Linked DNA regions of Homo sapiens: regions 2, 3 and 4 are each linked to region 1. Evidence: promoter capture Hi-C in human tissues and cell types (Jung and others, 2019). All regions are on one chromosome and are shown on one strand. Each heading gives the region's core, a stretch centred on a gene start or on the middle of the fragment in contact. The rest is flanking DNA. Distances are from core to core; before and after follow the strand shown.

Evidence for each region. The method cuts DNA at HindIII sites, captures the fragments that hold promoters and counts their contacts. A contact is called where the count stands out against the background at its distance.
Region 2: a contact is called between a fragment that was not itself captured here and the fragment with the promoter of POLD4 in region 1, in 1 of the 25 tissues and cell types used here (dorsolateral prefrontal cortex).
Region 3: a contact is called between a fragment that was not itself captured here and the fragment with the promoter of POLD4 in region 1, in 1 of the 25 tissues and cell types used here (dorsolateral prefrontal cortex).
Region 4: a contact is called between a fragment that was not itself captured here and the fragment with the promoter of POLD4 in region 1, in 1 of the 25 tissues and cell types used here (lymphoblastoid cells).

What each region holds. Positions count from the first base shown.
Region 1 is chr11:67,351,591-67,356,371 of GRCh38, reverse strand. It overlaps POLD4 (DNA polymerase delta 4, accessory subunit), which reads left to right and starts at 2,826. Exons shown (of 4, transcript NM_021173.5): 1 at 2,826-3,069; 2 at 3,295-3,384; 3 at 3,570-3,681; 4 at 4,353-4,781. The coding sequence starts at 2,973. The coding sequence ends at 4,377. The region is part of intron 2 of LOC100130987 (a long non-coding RNA gene); the gene reads right to left. RefSeq lists a silencer at 2,509-2,758 and enhancers at 2,939-2,988, 2,982-3,563, 3,564-4,146. The HindIII fragment of the contact is 15,541 bases long and covers 1-4,781 here.
Region 2 is chr11:66,893,763-66,898,543 of GRCh38, reverse strand. The region is part of intron 3 of PC (pyruvate carboxylase); the gene reads left to right. Among named protein-coding and RNA genes, the nearest start is that of MIR3163, 38 kb to the left of the region's middle. The HindIII fragment of the contact is 7,533 bases long and covers 1-4,781 here.
Region 3 is chr11:66,945,982-66,950,762 of GRCh38, reverse strand. The region is part of intron 3 of PC (pyruvate carboxylase); the gene reads left to right. Among named protein-coding and RNA genes, the nearest start is that of PC, 10 kb to the left of the region's middle. The HindIII fragment of the contact is 7,176 bases long and covers 1-4,781 here.
Region 4 is chr11:67,696,544-67,701,324 of GRCh38, reverse strand. No RefSeq gene overlaps it. Among named protein-coding and RNA genes, the nearest start is that of ALDH3B2, 24 kb to the right of the region's middle. The HindIII fragment of the contact is 5,827 bases long and covers 1-4,781 here.

The DNA.
Region 1 (4,781 bases), core at 1,577-4,076:
CAGCCCCTGGGAAGGTGCCGGGTTCCTGTTTCAGTTCTTTTCTCTCCTGGACCCCCAGGACTCTGGGCTTGGCCCTGAAGCAAGGGTCTTGGGTATTGTTACCAGGCTGAGGTGCAAAGGTCACTCCTACTAGTCTCATCACCAGCCTCTGGGTGTCGGGGCTGACACAAGGGTCTCAGGACATTCCCCCAGGGAGAGAGAACTCAGCACCCAACCCAGAACTCTGGCCTGGCCATCCAGTCTGAAGCCTGAACAGGCTCCAAGACAGCAGTTTAGGGAATGAGGCCAGGATGCTGCCTGAGTAGGTGAAGGGGTTCTAGGCAAGAAGGTACAGAAGGTGGATGGGGTTGGACAGCAAAGAAGGAAAAGACCTGAGGACAGGAAGGTCAAGGTCCAGCCTAGTCCTCAGCGCACCTTAGGGATTCAGGTGCTGAGTCAGGGCATGCCAGTTGGACAGGGATGGTTCCAAAATCCCTGGGTGCCAACTCTTTCCTAGGGGCTCCACCCTACTGCCATCTAAGAGAGAGCAGCAATGCTGCCTGCAGAGAGTTCCCTCAACTCCAAGGCAGAAAGCCAGGCCTAGGGTGCCTGCACTTGAGCTGACCACTCTGAATCTTTTTCTTGGGTGTGGGGGTAGCTGAAGCCTGAGGGAGACATCTTCCAGCCTGGGTTGGGGCCTGTGCCAGGCAAAGCTGGGGAAGCTGGCAGGGACAGCCCAGCCAACATCTACAGAGCAGCTCAGGATGCCAGAGGCTGCCCAAGGAGAAAAGGCAATAGGCCCAGGCGGTGGTAGGAGCTACTGTGGCTGCCCAGCGGCACACCCCATTTCACGCTCCCTGGGCGGTGGCAGGGCCCCACGGCTATCAGCTTTCAGGGGTGGGAGGGACTGGGAATGAGGAGGGGTCTGCCCCACCCATGGCTCCCTACTCCCTCAGGGCTTGGTGGACTCAGGAGGTGGGTGCCACACACCTCTGGAAACAGCCCAGGAACCCTTGCCAAGACCCTCTGGGGAGGGGTAGTCAATCCCCCAGAGCCTAGACGCCATCCCTACCTAGCATGCTCAGCACCTGACTGGACTCAGCACCTAGGCCCTTCCCAGCCCTGGTAGACAGGGCCTCCCTGCTTCCATCACTAACTCCGCAGGGACACTGTCTCCCTGAATGTGGGCCCCACTTAGTCCGCAAGGCAGATGGGGGGATTAGACTAGGCCCAGCCCAAACAATACAGCAGAAAGGGCCCTCCAGCTCCATGCAGTGCCCCCACAAGCTCCCTCCTCTAGGACGCCGATGGGGAGAGCCAGGCAGGACGTGGACCCTGAAGACATGGCCTGCTCCTCTGCCTCCCCTCTGGTGGTCTCCTTTCCAGAGCAGCTTCCTCCCTTGTGCCCACGTGTACCAGTGGCTTAGCCCTCTTCCAGTGCAGAACACCCAGACCCCAGAGCAGGGAAAGGAGGAGGCAGAGGCCTCTGAGCAGGCAGCAGCCCAGGAGTCTGTGCCCCACCCTCCCAGTATCCCTGGAAGGAAGAACCGGATGGGATCTCTGGAGGGTGATTAGAGCTGGGCTGGTCCCTGTGCTGGTTCCCAGACTCCCACTGGCCAGTACTTTTGCCTCCTGCCAGGAAGTTGGTGAGGGGGAGGCAGCAGTATGGGTGAGTCAGTGATGACAGGAGCCCAAGGGACAAAGGTCATGGGTGGAGAATTGAGAGACATTGTTTACAGCAGTCCACCTCCTCCAGGAGGCCTTCCAATGCTAATCATCCCTGTGGTCCTAACCAATCTCTGACCCACCCTTTCCCTCTTCTGGTAGGAATTATAGCCTCTCACTGACAACTGTGCATCTGTCTGCCTTGTGACAGTGAGCTCCTGGGGTGCAAGAGAGACTGTGGTTTGATTGGGGCCCTACAATGCCTGTGACTATCAGCAGTGATAATCATTTAGCTATACTTCCTACTTTCAAAAACTTTTTGACATCTATTTTAATTAACATGTGGGAAAGTGCTTAGAACAGTACTTGGCACATGGTACGTGCAATGAGTGTTAGGTTTATTATTAATATTTTCTGCTCAGACTCACATTATTGTGAGAGACAGGGCAGATTTTGCCAGTGAAGAACTAGGGATCCAAACACATTGTGGTGGGGGGACCAGACCCTTGCTCTGCCTTCCTACTCAGTATGGAATCTTCCTGACTGGTGGGGCGGGCCGGACACGACTTGGGACCCCAGGAGAGTCAAAACGGCAAACACTTACTCGGACTAAGAGTGGGCAGCATCTTTGGGCACAGACTGTGAGAAAGGAGGTTTCAGAACCCATGGGCTTCTCCAGCCAGGTCTCCTGGGGCCAGTGGGGGTTGGGTGGGAGCCGGGAAGGGGCCTGGATTAGCCCAAACTCTCTTCAGACCTCCAGACCTGCCCCCACAAGGCGGGGCGGGCCAAAGGACCGAGTGAAGGCTCCAGCTGGACTCTAGGGAGTTACAAACTGGCCACGGGGATTAGCGAAGCTGAAAAGAACATTTGCCTAGGAAGGGAAAACGGGAAGTGAGAGGCTGAAGATAACTCTCCTGAAGTCTCTCGGGACCCACAGCAGACCAATGGGGGCCGGGGAAGGTGGTGAAGTCGGGGCATCCCGACAGGTCCCCCGCCCCAGCCTGCCCCTCCTCCCGCGGCCCACAGCTGAGGCACCGCCCCGCCCCTCACCCTACACTGCCTACCATTGGCTAGCGCCAGGGCCCCGCCCCGCATAGGCGGCCTGCCATTGGCTGAAGTCTTTCCTGTTTGCGTGCTTTTGGGGGTGGGGGAGGCGTCCCTCCCTGGACCCCGGCGACTTCCTCTCTCGGTTTGTCTGGGTCATCTTGTCTGCCCGCCGCTGGCCTGGCCCCGTCTGTCTCTCTCAGCAGCTGTCTTTCTCGCGCCCACTGGCCGGTCTCTCCTCTTCCCCGCAGTTGCCTCCTTCTCTGCCTGCCTGGGTGGCCGCCATGGGCCGGAAGCGGCTCATCACTGATTCCTACCCGGTTGTGAAGAGGAGGGAGGGGCCCGCTGGGCACAGCAAGGGGGAGCTGGCACCCGAGCTAGGTCTCTGAGGTGTGAGGGAGGCAGGAGGAGTGGACACGGAGGGGCCTAGAGGAGGCCCCTAGAGGGGCGGAGGGGCCGATGGAAAGGGAAAGGTGGCCTGTCCTCCCCTCCCGACACCAGGTCTAGCTGCGGGGTGGCAGAGGCAAAGCGGTGGTGAGGAAGGCTGGGAGGTGAGGGGCAGGAGACTGAAGCCAACCTCGTACTGAAGAGCAGCTGTCATTGCAGGGGAGGAGCCCCAGCCCCGCGACGAGGAGGAAGCGGAGCTGGAGCTGCTGAGGCAGTTTGACCTGGCCTGGCAGTACGGGCCCTGCACCGGTGAGAACCCACCCAGCCCCACGGAGGCGCCTCTCCCAGCCAGTCACCCACACGTCTCTGAAGTCACCCAAGCGCTTGCGTGACTCTGACCCTCAGGAACTGTCTCCCCCCAACACACACATTCTCCAGCTCAGACTCTACCCCACCCCCCACAAGTCTCCAGAGTCTTCTTCCCACCCTGGCAGGGATCACACGGCTGCAGCGCTGGTGTCGGGCCAAGCAGATGGGCTTGGAGCCTCCCCCAGAGGTGTGGCAGGTGCTGAAGACCCACCCCGGAGACCCCCGCTTCCAGTGCAGGTCAGAGACAGGCCGGGAGGGCTTTCAGGGGAGCCAGGGCCTTCTCCAGGCACTGTCACCCTGCTGTCCTGACCTGAGGGAGAAATGGATGGAGGGTTGGAAGGCCTTGCTGAACAGGCAAGAAGATTCTATGAGGTGCCTGGCTCAGGAGGACACGCCACTATAATAATTCTTTTTTTTTGAGACAGAGTCTTGCTCTGTTGCCCAGGCTGGAGTGCAGTGGCGCGATCTCGGCTCACTGCAAACTCCGCCTCTCGGGTTCACGCCATTCTCCTGTCTCAGCCTCCCAAGTAGCTGGGACTACAGGCGCCCGCCAACACGCCCGGCTAATTTTTTCTATTTTTAGTAGAGACAGGGTTTCACCGTGTTAGCCAGGATGGTCTTGATCTCCTGACCTCGTGATCCCACCCACCTCAGCCTCCCAAAGTGCTGGGATTACAGGCGTGAGCCACCACACCCGGCCAATAATTCTTACCTCTACAAGCTAGTGGGGGGCAAAGGTACACCCAGGACCCAAGGAACTATCTATTTAGAACTGAGGGGTTTCCCAAGGACTATGGGCATGGCCAAGAATAAGCTGGTGAAATCAGATCCAGGGACTCAACAACTGATTCTCTGTTTCTCTCTCTCTCTCTCTGGGGTATCCCTCCCTCCCACCCCATCTTCCACAGTCTCTGGCATCTCTATCCCCTATGAGGCACCACGTAAGACCTCCTGCCCTTAGCTCTCTTGCTCACCACCCAAGAACCTCAGGACAGAAGCGAGAGCCCATTGCTCCTGCTCAGCTCAGCCCGGCTGCGGAGGAACCCTTGGCAGGCAGAACCTGGAGGTGTCAGAGGCTCAACTCCTCCATCTAACCAGCAGGCTCCCAGAGTCCCCGGAAGAGCCTGCGCAGCTGAAGCAGAGTGCTTCTAGATGGAGAGTGGTCACTGGGGAAAAGGACCTGGCCATCACCTTCCAATACCTGCTGCCTGTCTCCCTGACCCATGATCTGGCAAGTTAGGCACAGTCAGACATGGACAGTTGATCCATGAGGAAAAGATGCTCTCCCACCTAAGGCCAGGAATCTGAGAGCAGGACTGGCTGAGCTCCCAGGGCAA
Region 2 (4,781 bases), core at 1,031-3,530, 460 kb after region 1:
CACGCCCAGCGAATTTTTGTATTTTTAGTAGAGATGGGGTTTTGCCATGTTGGCCAGGCTGGTCTTAAACTCCTGACTTCAAGTGATCTGCCCACCTCAGCCTTCCAAAGTGCTGGGATTATAGGTGTGAGCCACTACACCCGGCCATTGAATTGCACTTTATGTGTCTCATCTATATGGTATGTGAATTGTATCTCAGTAAAGCTGTTAAAAAACAAAACCCTGGCCCTGAAGGGCAGCGCAGTCGGCTAAAAGACTGTGATTTAATGAGGAAACTTTCCCACCGGGCTGTGACCGCTGGCCCTGGCTCCCTTTGGCCGGGTGGAGGTGCTGTCTGCCACTGAGGGCCCTCAGCTGCTTTTTCAGGATCTCAGAACATGGGAGGACCCCAGCTCCAGAAGAAAATCTTAATTCCAGTTTAATCTTAATTCCAATTTAATTTGGTTGAGTTAAACATTTTTGGAACTGTACTGTGAGCTAGGCACCAGGCTAGCTGCTCTCATGAAAAAACAGGGGCCCTGGAGCTGGGCAGCCTTAATTATTCTTGAGTTTGCTACTTCCTGTGGGTCCTTCCCAGCCTCAATTTTCTTTTCAGTAAAATGAGGGTTGATAATACCCCATGAGATTGTGGTGACAATTCAGTGGGCTAAAAGGAAGATGCCTGGAATATTGTAGGCAGAAAATGAAAGTTTCTTTCCAGTGCTCCTGGAGCAAGTTATCTCTACCAAGTGGACATAACAAAGATGAGTTAGTTATGTCTGCCCCCGTAGAGCTCAAGGCTGGATACATGACCTGTACTCGCTAACCAGGGCCTGGGGAGAAGCAGGCCAGGAGGAGGGTCCCTGTCTTACTCTGGTCCTGGGTTGGGAACCGGGGAAGGCTTCCTCAGGGAGGGGGCAATGAAGTGAGGCTTTGAAGGAGGATAGCTTTTCGCATGTTGTATTTTATTCGCTTTTTGTTTATTTATTTTTTGTAGGCAGGTCTCTCTCTGTCGCCCAGGCTGGAGTGCAGTGGCATAATCTCTGCTTACTGCAACCTCTGCCTCCCGGGTTTAAGCAATTCTCCTGCTTCAGCCTCCCGAGTAACTGGGACTACAGGTGTGTGCCACCACATCCAGATAATTTATTATATTTTTAGTAGAAACGGGGTTTTGCCATGTTGGCCAGACTGGTGACGAACTCTTGGCCTCAGGTAATCTGCCTGCTTCGGCCTCCCAAAGTGCTGGGATTATAGGTGTGAGCCACTGCACCCCGACTTAGTCACTTTTTGAATAGATAATCAAGTACATGGTGCCAATTCAAAAGGGTCAAGGCTGGGCGCGGTGGCTCATGCCTGTAATTCCAGCACTTTGGGACGCCTAGGCAGGTGGATCACCTGAGGTCAGGAGCTCGAGACCAGCCTGGCCAACATGGTGAAACCCCATCTCTACTAAAAATACAAAAAAATCAGCCAGGCATGGTGGTGCGCGCCTGTAATCCCAGCTACTCTGGAGGCTGAGGCATGAGAATCTCTTGAATCCCGGGGGCAGAGGTTGCAGTGAGCCGAGATTGCACCACTGCACTCCAGCCTGGGCGACAAGAGTGAGACTCCATCTCAAAAAACAAACAAACAAACAAACAAAAAACAAAAGGATCAGCAGTGAAAGAGAAACCTTTCCCAGAGGCAGCCACTGTTACCAGCTCCTGAAGTGTCATTCTAGAAATACTCTATGTTTATGAGTGTATGTGCGTATATATAGGCGGACGCTTCTCATCTAGGCAGATTTTCACAGCATCCACATTGTGGTCCGTGGGGATCAGGGGCCTCCTGCTAAGGTGTGGGTTAGGCTTCAGGTGTTATGTTCTTGCTGCTTTCGTGTCTTGCGGTCAGGTTCGGCATAGGCCCTCTCATCAGTAAGAGTGAGGCTTCATTTTCCTTTAGTTCCCCTTGAAGGGAGCCAGCGGCGCTGTCCATCCTCCTTGCCCCTCTGCTCCCTTGGCGTGCCCTCTCCCAGGGATTTCCTCTGTCTTTCTCCTTTGTTCCCCGCTCCTCTTTCTCGTTTGCTTGCTCCCTTGTTTGGGTGCAGCATATTGACAGCAGCTTCCTAACAAAGACCTTTGCCTTTTCTTGTTATTTTACTTTCATACATGGTTGATAGTTTAGCTGGATAGAGAATTTCAGGTTGGGGCCAGGAGCCATGGCTCATGCCTGTAATCCCAGCACTTTGGGAGGCCGAGGCAGGTGGATCACTTGAGGCCAGGAGTTCAAGACCATCTTGGCCAACATGGTGAAACCCCATCCCTACTGAAAATACAAAAATTAGCTAGGCATGGTGGCACATGTCTGTAATCCCAGCTACTCGAGAGGCTGAGGCAGAGGATTGCTTGAACCCAAGAGGTGGAGGTTGCAGTGAGCTGAGATTGTGCCACTGCACTCCAGACTGGATGACAGAGCCAGACTGTCTCCGGAAAGAAAAAAAAAAGAGAATTTCAGGTTGGAAACAATTTTTCCTTGACAAGTTTGAAGGATTGCTTTGCACTTTTCTAACTTCTGAAACTGCTAAGAAGTCCAAAACCTTTCTGATTTCTGATACTTTTGTCTTTTTTTTCTTTTTACCCTCCTTTGGGAAAGCTTACAGGATCTGAAATTGGACACAGTGCCTTGGTGTAGGCCTGTGTTCATCTGTTTCGTGAGGCTCTCAGCAAGTCCTTCCAGTGTGGAAACTCATGTCCTATCCTGGGAGTTTCTTGAAACATTCCTTTTCTTGCCCTCTGTTTTTTACTGTTCTGTCTTTCTGAAACTCCTATTATTTAGTTTTTGGATCTCTTGGACTGACCCTCTAATTTTTTTCCCTTTTTCACCTATTTTCCATCTCTTTGTCTCTTTTCTTCAGTTTCTAGAAGATTTCCTTTTATCTTTCAACCTTTCTATTGCTTTGTCTTATTGTATTTTTTAATTTCCAAGAGCTTTTTTGCTCCCCAAATGGTTCTTTAAAAATGTGTGTAGCATCCTATGTTTTCACTGATGTAATCGTTTCTTATTTCTGTGAGAATGTGAATGCCATGTTTGTCTCTAAGTTTTCTTCTCCCTGCATAGTTGGTTTCCTCCAAATTGCTTTCTCTGCTCTTTCCTTTGGTCTCCATCCTCTTTGAATGAATCTGCCCAGGGACCTTTGGTTGCCCACTCATAATTATTAGGAGGGTCTAAAATGCTGCCTGGGAGCTGGAGCAGGTGGGGGTCCAGTTCTGAGTTTACCAGTACATGATCTGGGCAGGCTGTTTGTTGGGGAACCTCAGTGTCAACACCTGGGAGCTCAGTTGGGGAAGGGGGTAGCATGCAAAGAGTCACGTAACCTGCCACCCCCATTTTTGGCAAGGTCCCCAGGCCCTCAACTGTGCCTCGAATTTCCCAGTCCAGAGACCCCACACTTTTCCCTCCCCAGAAAGTAAACCTCTGTTCTTCCAGGGCTGGAGAGGGGAGGTCTCTGGCATGAGATGGGGGAGGTAGGGGTCTAACTGCTATTTTTTTTTTTTTTTTTCCTGAGACGGAGTTTTAACTCTTGTCACCCAGGCTGGAGTGCAATGGCACAATCTCGGCTCACTTCAGCTTCCGCCTCCTGGGTTCAAGTGATTCTCCTGCCTCAGCGTCCTGAGTAGCTGGGACTACAGGTGCATGCCACCACGCCCAACTGATTTTTGTATTTTTAGTAGATACGGGGTTTCACCATGTTGGCCAGGCTGGTCTCGAACTCCTGACCTCAGGTGATCCACCCGCCTTGGCCTCCCAAAGTGTTGGCATTACAGGTGCGAGCCACTGTGCCCAGCCCTGATTGCTTTTTGAAAGCTTTCAGCCTGCCCTCTTTATACACGGCAGCCCGTTCAGCCCATTGTGGAGGTGGGAGGCCTGGAGCTGCAGTTCCCTGGCCTTTGGAGGATTCCTGGTGGATGGTGGGAACCCGGGTGTTCTCAGCCTGCTCCAGACCCAGGCTGTGAGGTCAGCTGACGCGAGCTGCGCTCCAGCTTCTGCAGTCATGTTGCTGTTGTCTCCTCTCCTGTTCTGCCCTTGGGGGTTCATAGCTTTAAAAATATATATATATTTGCTGAAGTCTTAGTGGGATTTCATAAGGGAGGGAGAAAAATTAGATGCATACCTGAGACAGGAGCAGGACTTGCATGGGCAAAAGCTGGGACGGGAAGGGTGTTCTAATGGTAGAGGGAGTGCTCTGAGGGAGAGGGGCAGGTGCTAGGATTTCTGAGAACAAAGAGGAGGCAGCTGGGCTGCAGCTGGAGAATCCGGGAGGCTGGGGCATGGGGGGACAAGGCTGGACAGGCAGGGTGCACTAATTTTGGGGGAGGTCCCCAAGGAGACTTGAGTTTCCCACCTACAGACAGTGGGGAGTCAGAGAATTACCCCACTTTTCAGGAAGAGTGCCGTCATGCCTGTATTTGGGGATGCTAGCTATCCCTAGTACCTAATGTGGATTGGTAGCTAGAGCTGTGGTAATGAGTAGGAGGTTTTTACGATAGTTAAGTAGTAAGAAGAGGACATTTCAGGGTCCTCTTCTTAGAAATGAAAAGAGGGAAGGATGTGAGGGATTAAAGAGGTAAAACTGCCCAGACTTCTTGACCAGATGGTAGGTGAGGGAGGGGAAGAGCTAAAGAAGACCCTAAGCTTAACCCTTGGTGACCAGGGAGAGGGTGGTGAGGAAGGAAGGAGGAGGTGTCTGGTTGGGTTTGGTGTATGTGTGCAGTTTGGGAGGGGGAGTGAGGGGGTAGGGGGCGGGGGCTAAGTTCTGCTATAGA
Region 3 (4,781 bases), core at 622-3,121, 400 kb after region 1:
CCCATTGTTTATTCTTCTTTTAAAATTGCCATATTTTATTGATGTCTTCCCTTAGATCCATCAATAGAGAGGGAAAATCAGTCACCAAGAAGGGACCTCTTCTTCCAGGTTATGTAATTTGTCAAAGCTTGTTTGGCTCCTCAGTTCCCAAGGCACTGCTGACTTGAGCTTTGCCTAGGGACTAAGGCTCTGTAGTCTAAGCTTGTCACCCTCCCCTCCTCTTCAGCTTTCTCCTGGGGGGACATGGATGTGGCCCTTTGTTGTGTTGTTAAGTGTTATGCCTGAAGGCGTTACCCCAGGTACTCCCAGCACTACCTCGGGTTTCCTACTCTTGTGTTACCTCCTTGTCCTGATATGCCTCGAGGCCAGAGAAAGAGGTGGGGCCGGGAGGGCACGGGACAGCTGGGAGTACATTTCCACTGCCTGTGTGTGGAAGGGCCTGACTGCTTCTGTGGCAGCTCCTTTCCTGATGACATCCACCATGACATCACAACGAGGCTTTGGGAAAATTCCACGACCTGGCCATGCTGAGTCATACTTAGTCTCTGGGGATGTGTGTCACCTTTCTCTTGTCTGTCACTGAGTGCTGCAGTTACTATGAAGTGACACATGCTGCCCATTTATTACGTTTGCACATCACTTTATGCTGCTTTGGAGCCTCTTCTCATGTACATGCTGTGTATCAATGTGAAATGTATTAATATTAAATCATTAATAATAAGTATATTATTTATTCTGGAAAATATTTGTCTCTTGCAATGTGTGAGGAACCAGAGGTTCAGAGAGACTAGAGACTAAGCGACTTGGTGAGTTTCGGGTGACTGGTGCGTGGCATGTCTGAGGGAGGTTTGGATGCCACACCCACTCCTACCCCTGGATTTTTATGTAATGCAAAGATTATTCAGAAATTACTTTGGTCGAAAACAATTGATTTTCAATTTGTTAAAATTATGAATTCAGAAACCTAGTTATTTTAAGGGCCAGTCTTTTAAGTTTAGCTTATAAGTGTAGCCTATAAATCTTTCTGATCTATTTACGATTCTAGGACATTTTAACAGTCACTTTCAGGGGGCTTTTATTTATTTATTTTTTTTGCGATGGAGTCTCGCTCTGTCGCGATCTCGGCTCACTGCAACCTCCGCCTCCTGGTTCAAGCGATTCTTCTGCCTCAGCCTCCTGAGTAGCTGGGATTACAGGCGCCCGCCACCATGCTGGCTAATTTGTATTTTTAGTAGAGGCGGGGTTTCTTCATGTTGGTCAGGCTGGTCTCGAACTCCTGACTCAAGTGATCTGCCCGCCTCGGCCTCCCAAAGTGCTGGGATTACAGGCGTGAGCCGCCGCCCCGGCCTTAGGGGGCTTTTTGATTAATGCTTGGTCCCATTTGCAAATTTGATGAAACTTCTGAAATGTTTCAATTGAACTTATAAATCATATTCAACTTCAGTTAACTATTTTAATAATTCTTCTGGCCGGGCATGGTGGGTGGCTCACGCCTGTAATCCTAGCACTTTGGGAGGCCAAGGCGGGCAGATCACGAGGTCAAGAGATTGAGACCATCCTGGCCAACATGGTGAAACCCTGTCGCTACTAAAAATACAAAAATTAGCTGGGTGTGGTGGTCACGCGCCTGTAATCCCAGCTACTTGGGAGGCTGAGGCAGGAGAATCGCTTGAACCCGGGAGGCGGAGGTTGCAGTGAGCTGAGATTATGCCACTGCACTCCAGCCTGGCGACACAGCAAGACTCCATCTCAAAAAAATAATAATAATAATAAATAATAATAATAATTCTTCCATTTTTCTGATTAAAAAAACCCTCTAATACCTAAATGACTCTTGTAAATCTAATAAATGAAGCTGAATATTACACTTTTCTTAAACTTTCCTATACCGTTTTATGTTTTGTTTGTTTATTTTTGTTTATTTTGAGACGGTCTGATTCTGTCACTCAGGCTGGAGTACAGTGGCACAGTCTCAGCTCACTGCAACCTCTACCTCCTAGGCTCAGGTGATCTTCCCTTTTCAGACTCCTGAGTAGCTGGGACTACAGGTTCAAGCCACCACACCCGGCTAATTTTTGTACTTTTTGTGGAGACGGGGTTTCACCACATTGCCCAGGCTCATCTCGAACTCCTGAGCTCAAGCAATCAGCCCGCCTTGGCCTCCCAAAGTGCTGGGATTACAGGCGTGATACATTTTAGTTTTTACAATAGCTTTATTGGAGTATTACTGAGATATAATAAGTTGCACATATTTAAAGTATACAGTTTAGTAAGTTTTAACATATGTGTACCCTTGTGAAACCATCACTGCAGTCCAGAGAGTGAACACATTCATCACCTTTGGAATTCCTCCCTCTGCCTCCTCACTCTTCAGGAAACCATGGAACTGCTTTCTGTTACTATAGGTTAGTTTCCATTTTCTGGAATTTCACATAAATTGACTCATACAGTATATATTCTTTTTTCTCTGCCTTCTTTTACTCAGCATAATTATGTTGAGATATGTCCATGTTGTTGCTTGTATTGATAGTTCATTTCCTTCTTTTTTTTTTTTTTAAGACAGAGTCTTGCTCTGTCACCCAAGCTGGAATATAGCGGCGTGATCATAGCTCACTGCAGCCTTGATCTTCTGGGCTCAAGTGATCTCCCATCTCACTGAGTAGCTGGAACTACAGGTGTGTGCCACTACGCCTGGCATATCTATCTATCTATCTATCTATCTATCTATCTATCTATCTATCTATCTATCTTTAGTAGAGATGAGATCTCGGTATGTTGCTTAGGCTTTTTTTTTTTTTTTGAGACGGAATCTCACTCTGTCGCCCAGGCTGGAGTGCAGTGGCATGATCTCGGCTCACTGCAACCTCTGCCTCCCGGGTTCAAGCGATTCTTCTGCCTTAGCCTCCCAAGTAGCTGGGACTAGAGGCGCCCACCACCACGCCCAGCTAATTTTTGTATTTTTAGTAGAGAGGGGGTTTCACCATGTTGGCCAGGCTGGTCTCGACTCCTGACCTCAAATGATCCACCCCACCTCAGCCTCGAAAAGTGTTGGGATTACCTGCGTGAGCTACCGCACCTGGCCCTTAGGCTTGTCTTGAACTCCTGAACTCAAGCAGTCCTTCCCACTTTCCACCTTGGCCTCCCAAAGTGCTGGGGTTACAGGCATGAGCCACTGTTCCTGGTCAGTTCTTTTTTTTTTTTTGAGACTGAGTCTTGCTCTGTCGCACAGGCTGGAGTGCAGTGGCACGATCTCGGCTCACTGCAAGCTCCGCCTCAACCTCCCGAGTAGCTGGGACTACAGGCACCCACCACCACACCCAGCTAATTTTGTTTTTGTATTTTTAGTAGAGACGGGGTTTCACTGTGTTAGCCAGAATGGTCTTGATCTCCTGACCTTGTGATCCTCCCGCCTCGGCCTCCCAAAGTGCTGGAATTACAGGCATGAGCCACCGCACCCAGCTTTTTTTTTTTGCTGATTTCATTATATGGGTATTACAGTTTATCCAGTCACCTTTGTTGGTCATCTCAGGTGCTTCTACTTTTTGGCATCTACAAATAAAGCTACTGTGAACATTTGTGTATAAGTCTTTGTGTGAACATATATTTCCTTTTCTCTTGGGTAAATGCCTAGGAGTGGAGTGGCTGGATCCTGTGGTAGCTGTATGTATGTTTAACTTGAACTGCCAAATTTTCTGACGTGGTTGTAGTATTTTACATTCCTACCAGCTGTGTATGAGAGTTCCAGTTTCTCTTCATCCTCCCCAACACTGGCTATGGTTAGTCTTTTAAATTTTAGCCATTTAAAAAGGTATATGGTGGTATCTCATGGTTTCAATTTGAATTTTCCTAATGATAATGATGTTGAGCATCTTGTCATGTGTTTGTCATCTGCCAGTACTGATTTTAAACTTAGTAAAATTTCTATGTAAAATCACACGTCTAAACTAACTACTCAGTTACATGTTTTTTGTTTTGAGACAGGGTCTTGCTCTGTGCCCCAGGCTGGCTTGCACTGATGCGATCGTGGCTCACTGCAGCCTCGACCTCCCATGCTCAAGCGATCCTCCCATCTCAGCCTCTTGAGTAGCTGGGACCATGGCATGCACGTCATGCCTGGCTGATTTAAAAAAAATTTTTTTTTTGAGATGGAGTCTCACTCTGTTGCCCAGGCTGGAATGCGGTTTCATGATCTTGGCCTACTTGCAACCTCCGCCTGCTGGGTTCAAGCAATTCTTCTGCCTCAGCCTCCCGAGTAGCTGGGATTACAGGCGTGGCCCAGCTAATTTTTGTATTTTTAGTAGAGACGGGGTTTCACCATATTGGCCAGGCTGATCTCGAACTCCCGACCTTGTGATCTGCCCGCCTTGGTCTCCCAAAGTGCTGGGATTACAGGCATGAGCCACTGCACCTGGCCTTTTAAAAAATTTTCTTTGTAGAGGTGGGATTTCACTGTGTTGCCAGGGCTGGTCTCAAACTGCTATCATGCGATCCACCTGCCTCAGCCTCCCAAAATCATGTGGTTACAGATGTGAGTCACCACGCCTGGCCTCAGTTACATGTTTTAATTGGAATCTCAAGACTGATTTGTTATTCTAAACAGACCATATTCTCTTAGAGTACATAAAGTAACAGACAACACACAGATTTCTTTTTTTTTTTTTTTTTTTTTTGAGACGGAGTCTCGCTCTGTCGCCCAGGCCGGACTGCGGACTGCAGTGGCGCAATCTTGGCTCACTGCAAGCTTCGCTTCCCGGGTTCACGCCATTCTCCTGCCTCAGCCT
Region 4 (4,781 bases), core at 1,247-3,746, 350 kb before region 1:
TTGAACTTCGAGCTGATTTAAAGGAACCATAGTTAAATTTGGATCAAATCCAGAAATTTTAAGTATTTGACACCGAGCTTGTCCAATTACAGATTTTTCAACAGCATCTTGTAATTTAGCCAAAAAATTAGGATATAATTTATTGTGACCCTGTTTAACAGTAGTAAAAGAAACAGGAGCTTGGCAGGAGTGTGTAATTTATCCCAAGCTCTTACACACACCTTTGTTACTTGATCCGTGGTGACAGCATCAAAGCCTAATTGGGTGGTATTGTCAGAGTAATTATTGGAGCCTGTGAGCTGAGCCTGAGTAATTGGAATGCCATCAGCCTGATTTAGCTGAGCCTGCAGATGGGCCTCCTCTGACCACCAAGTACAGAATTTTAATGCTGAGATGGAGTTAGAACAGCTTTTGCCAAAAGGTCCCAGTCTAAAGGAAGCAAAATGACCTCAGTACAAAGAGTCTGTAATACCTTTTAACATAAGGAGAAGCAGGATCATACTGAGTACAAGCATCCTTGAATTTTTTTAAAAAGGTAAGATTGAGCAGCGCATATTGACGCACTTGTACCCCTTGAGCATTGGCAGGTTCCAGCGCGACCGGATAAGCCCACGCCTCTAATCCACTTGTTTCTTTGTTCTGGCATAATAAGTGTTGCATGGAAGTTTCAAGAACAGGCACATGAGACGGAGTCAGCATAGAAGTGACAGGAAAAGTATGTGTAGATAAGGGAAACTGAGGTTGAGGAGGTCGGGCCAGTATGAGAGCACGAGAAAGGGGCATTGGGGGAGCAGAAGGGGCAGAAGCTGGTGATTATTGCCCAATCCTGTGCAACCAGAGTGGCAGGGGTGTCCATGCTTGAAGAAGGGTACAGAGAAGCAGTTTGAGTGGATGGCAAAGTGACCGGTTGAGGGACCGAAATGACAGGAGGGTGAGGGGCTGTGGTGGACGGGGGAGGGTCTGCAGAATTACAGATAAATTGTAGTTTGGTCCCAGAGCCATTAGATGGCTCCGGAGGCAAAGGCTGCAAAGGTTTGAAGAGGGAAGATAGCATAGATATGGTCTCGGGCTGTCCAAGTCGGGGCCGCGGGAGCTACAAGTACCAGCAATTCGTGAAAAGAAATAAAATCATCAGGGGGTGACATTAAGCCAAAGTCACCGGAGTTAGATATTGAATCCTCAACATTCTCAGGTTGGGGAGGAGTAGGTGAAGGGAGAAGCTGAGCAGATAACAAAGGCCGAGTGGGAGAGGAAAGCTGAGGAAGAGGTAGAGGGTCTCCAGATTCAGAAAACTGTGGTAACTGCAGGGGGTCACAGGATTGGTATGTCATTAGGATGGCACGTACCAAGGCCCAATCACCCCAAACAGTGACGGGAGCATAATTTCCTGTTGGGACCGGTTCCCGGAATTTTGCACCAACACAATCCCAAAGTTCCACATCTAACGTTCCCTTTTGAGGAAACCAAGGACAGTGTTCTTCCACCGCCCTGAAATGGGTGACCATATTTTCCATGGGTACCCAAACTCCTCCCTGTTTTAACAGGAGTTTAATATAGCAGAGATAAGCATAATGTTTAGATTCTGCATGACTCATAGTTACCCCGGACAATACACAGACAACTCACCAGTTGTCAGGGAGCCGAACAAGGGTTTCTGTGGACCGGACCGATGAACGTTTCTACATACCTACCAAAGGGAATCGGGTTCCCACATGCACTTAGGAAAAAGAAAACCACGTTGGTGTGCCAGATATTGGGGGAACCCACCCCCAATATTTCAATGTAGGTTCTTTCTATTTTCCATAAGTGTCGGCTGGCTGAGAAATAGAGAGACAGTATAAAGAGAGGAATTTTACAGCTAGGCTGCCGGGGTGACATCACATATCAGTAGGACCATGAGGCCTGCCTGATCCTCAAAACCAGCAAGTTTTTCTTAAGGGTTTCAAAAGGGGAGGGGGTGTGAGAACAGGGAGTAAGTACAAAGATCACATGCTTCAAAGGGCAAAAAGCAGAACCACTAATAAGGGTCTAACAAAGATCACAAGGCAAAGGGCAAAAGCAGAACTACTGATAAGGGTCTATGTTCAGCAGTGCATATATTGTCTTGATAGACATCTTAAACAACAGAAAAGAGGGTTCAAGAGCAGAGAACCAGTCTGACCACAAATTTACCAGGGCAGAGTTTTTCCCCACCCTGGTAAGCCTGAGGGTACTGCAGGAGACCAGAGCATATCTCAGTCCTTATCTCAACTGCACAAGACAGACATTCCCAGAGCGGTTATTATAGACCTCCCCCAAGGAATGCATTCCTTTCCCAGGATATTAATCTTAATATTCCTTGCTAGGAAAAGAATTTAGCAATATGTTTCCTACTTGCATGTCCGTTTATAGGCTCTCTGCAAGAAGAAAATATGGCTCTTTTTGCCTGACCCCACAGGCAGTCAGACCTTATGGTTGTCTTCCCTTGTTCCCTAAAAATCACTGTTATTCTGTTCTTTTTCAAGGTGCACTGATTTCATATTGTTCAAACACACATGTTTTACAATCAATTTGTACAGTTAACACAATTATCACAGTGGTCCTGAGGTGATGTACATCCTAGCTTATGAAGATAACAGGATTAAGAGATTAAAGTAAAGACAGGCATAAGAAATTATAAAAGTATTATTTGGGAACTGATAAATGTCCATATTAAAATGAAATCTTCACAATTTATGTTCCTATGGCACGGCTCCAGCTGGTCACTCCGTTCAGGGTCCCTGATTTCCTGCAACAGCAACTCTGTTCAGAAGAGGGCAGGACAGACAGTGGCAGGCCTCATCAGAACCCGAAGGCCATGCAGAACCTTCTCATGACAGCCTCCTGGGGGAGACAGGGAGCCAACGGGAGTGGTAGCAGCTCCTACAGGCCTCCCACTCTCTGGAGGATCACAAAGTGTCCTGTCATGACTCAGATGAGCCTCAGTTTGAGCTTTCGCCTCTGTAGCCTGTGTGGATATGTTCAGGGCCACCAGGGTGCCATGGTGGAGCCGTTCCCTACACAGCCTGGAGGGCTTGTGTGAAGTGGCTGTTTATAATGAGCAGACTTAGGAGAAATTGAATAAAGAGGTTTTCATGAAATGTGTAAGTGGGAATATGTTGCCTCAAAAATCCAAGTAGCCCCAACAAACGTTATTAGAAAGCCTGTCTTAGTCTGCAAATTAACACCACAAATTGGACAACTGATAAAAGAAATTTATTTCTCCCAGTTTTGGAGGCTGGGAAGTCCAAGAGCATGGTGCTGGCTTTGGGCAAGGGTCATCTTGTGGCAGAAGGGTGTAAGGCAGAAGCAAGCATGTGAGACAGGGAGGAAATCAGGCCGACCTCACTTTTATAACACACCCAGTCTCGTGATCACTAACCTACTCCTGCCATAACAGGATTAATTAATTCATGGGGGCAGAGCCTTCATGACCTAATCGCCTATGGAGGGTCCCCTCCACGACATTGTTACAATGGCAATTACATTTCCTTTTTTGTTTGTTTGAGATGAGTCTCTCCTCCCAGTTTGCCAGTAAAGCTCCTCTTTCGACTGTGTAGCCGTCCTGGTGGTCTTTTGGATGACAGTTAGGACAATTTTTTTCCTTGACCTGAGTCATTTTATCTTCACCTTTTGTAATTAGGGATATTTTAGGGGGGGGGTTTATTTAATTTTTTTCTCCAGGGAGTCTCAGTGTGCATGACCATGTCACGGCAGTGAGGACAGCAGCAGTAATGTACCTGCTTGCCGAGCCCTGAGGAACCTCTGCCATGGGAATCCTGGGGCTCTGAACACCACATAAATTCTTGTTCAAACAGTGGCCCCCGCGGGGAGTTCTTGCCTTTTTACGTGCAGCGTTTGGGAAATGTGGGGCCAGCTTCTGGCTGAGACATATAACCATTCCCTCCAATGAATGATGCTACCAACTACTAGGGTCCAGTCTGGGGTCAGGATTCACTTTATGTCTGGCTCCTCAGCCCCCTTTCCCCATCATTACCTCTGGCTTAAGCTGCTACTTTTAAAGCAGATGCTTGGAAAATCCCAGGAGAACCACCCTAAAGTGATGTGGCCCAGAGCACAGGCGTGCCAGCAATCGGCCAAGACGGTCCAGGCCAGTCTGAGCCCACTACCTGTGGTATGGACCTGGTGAGTAAGCCAAGAGTGAGAGAAGAAACACATGCTATGTAGGATCGGCATCCAGCCCTCCGGTTCCCAGCATAAATTGTGTGATTTGGGTGCCTGGCATCCCTGCCGGACACTGGGCGGCCCCCACCCAGGGATTTGTGGATACTGGGATGAAAGACATTGGCACCAATGGACATGACATCAAATTTATCACTCACATAATAAACAGCAAGAGGAGAAACAGCCCTTCCTCCCACAGGAGGGCTCAAGGTTGGTCTGGAGCAGAATAAGCTGTGTGGGGAGGGAAGAAGTGGCCTCAGGTTTCTGCCGTGCAGAAGGATGACCCGGGTGGAGGTGCCCAGGTGCAGCCTGGGGCTGATGTGGTTTGAAATTCCCACTCATGCCAAGAGACAGAGGGCACCCTTGGGCTCTCTGATTGGGCCACCCAGATATGGGGCAAAGTGGAGGGATGGGGACATAGAAGCTGTCGGTGATCAAACAACAAAAATAGAGTCTCTCTGTCTATGACACCTAAGATGCCTGCTGTGGCTATTTCTGTTCAAAGCCAGGAAGGGGTTGGTGGGAAGCCTGAAGCAGGCACTGGTCCACAGCAATTCCCACATCAAGTACGATGCCTG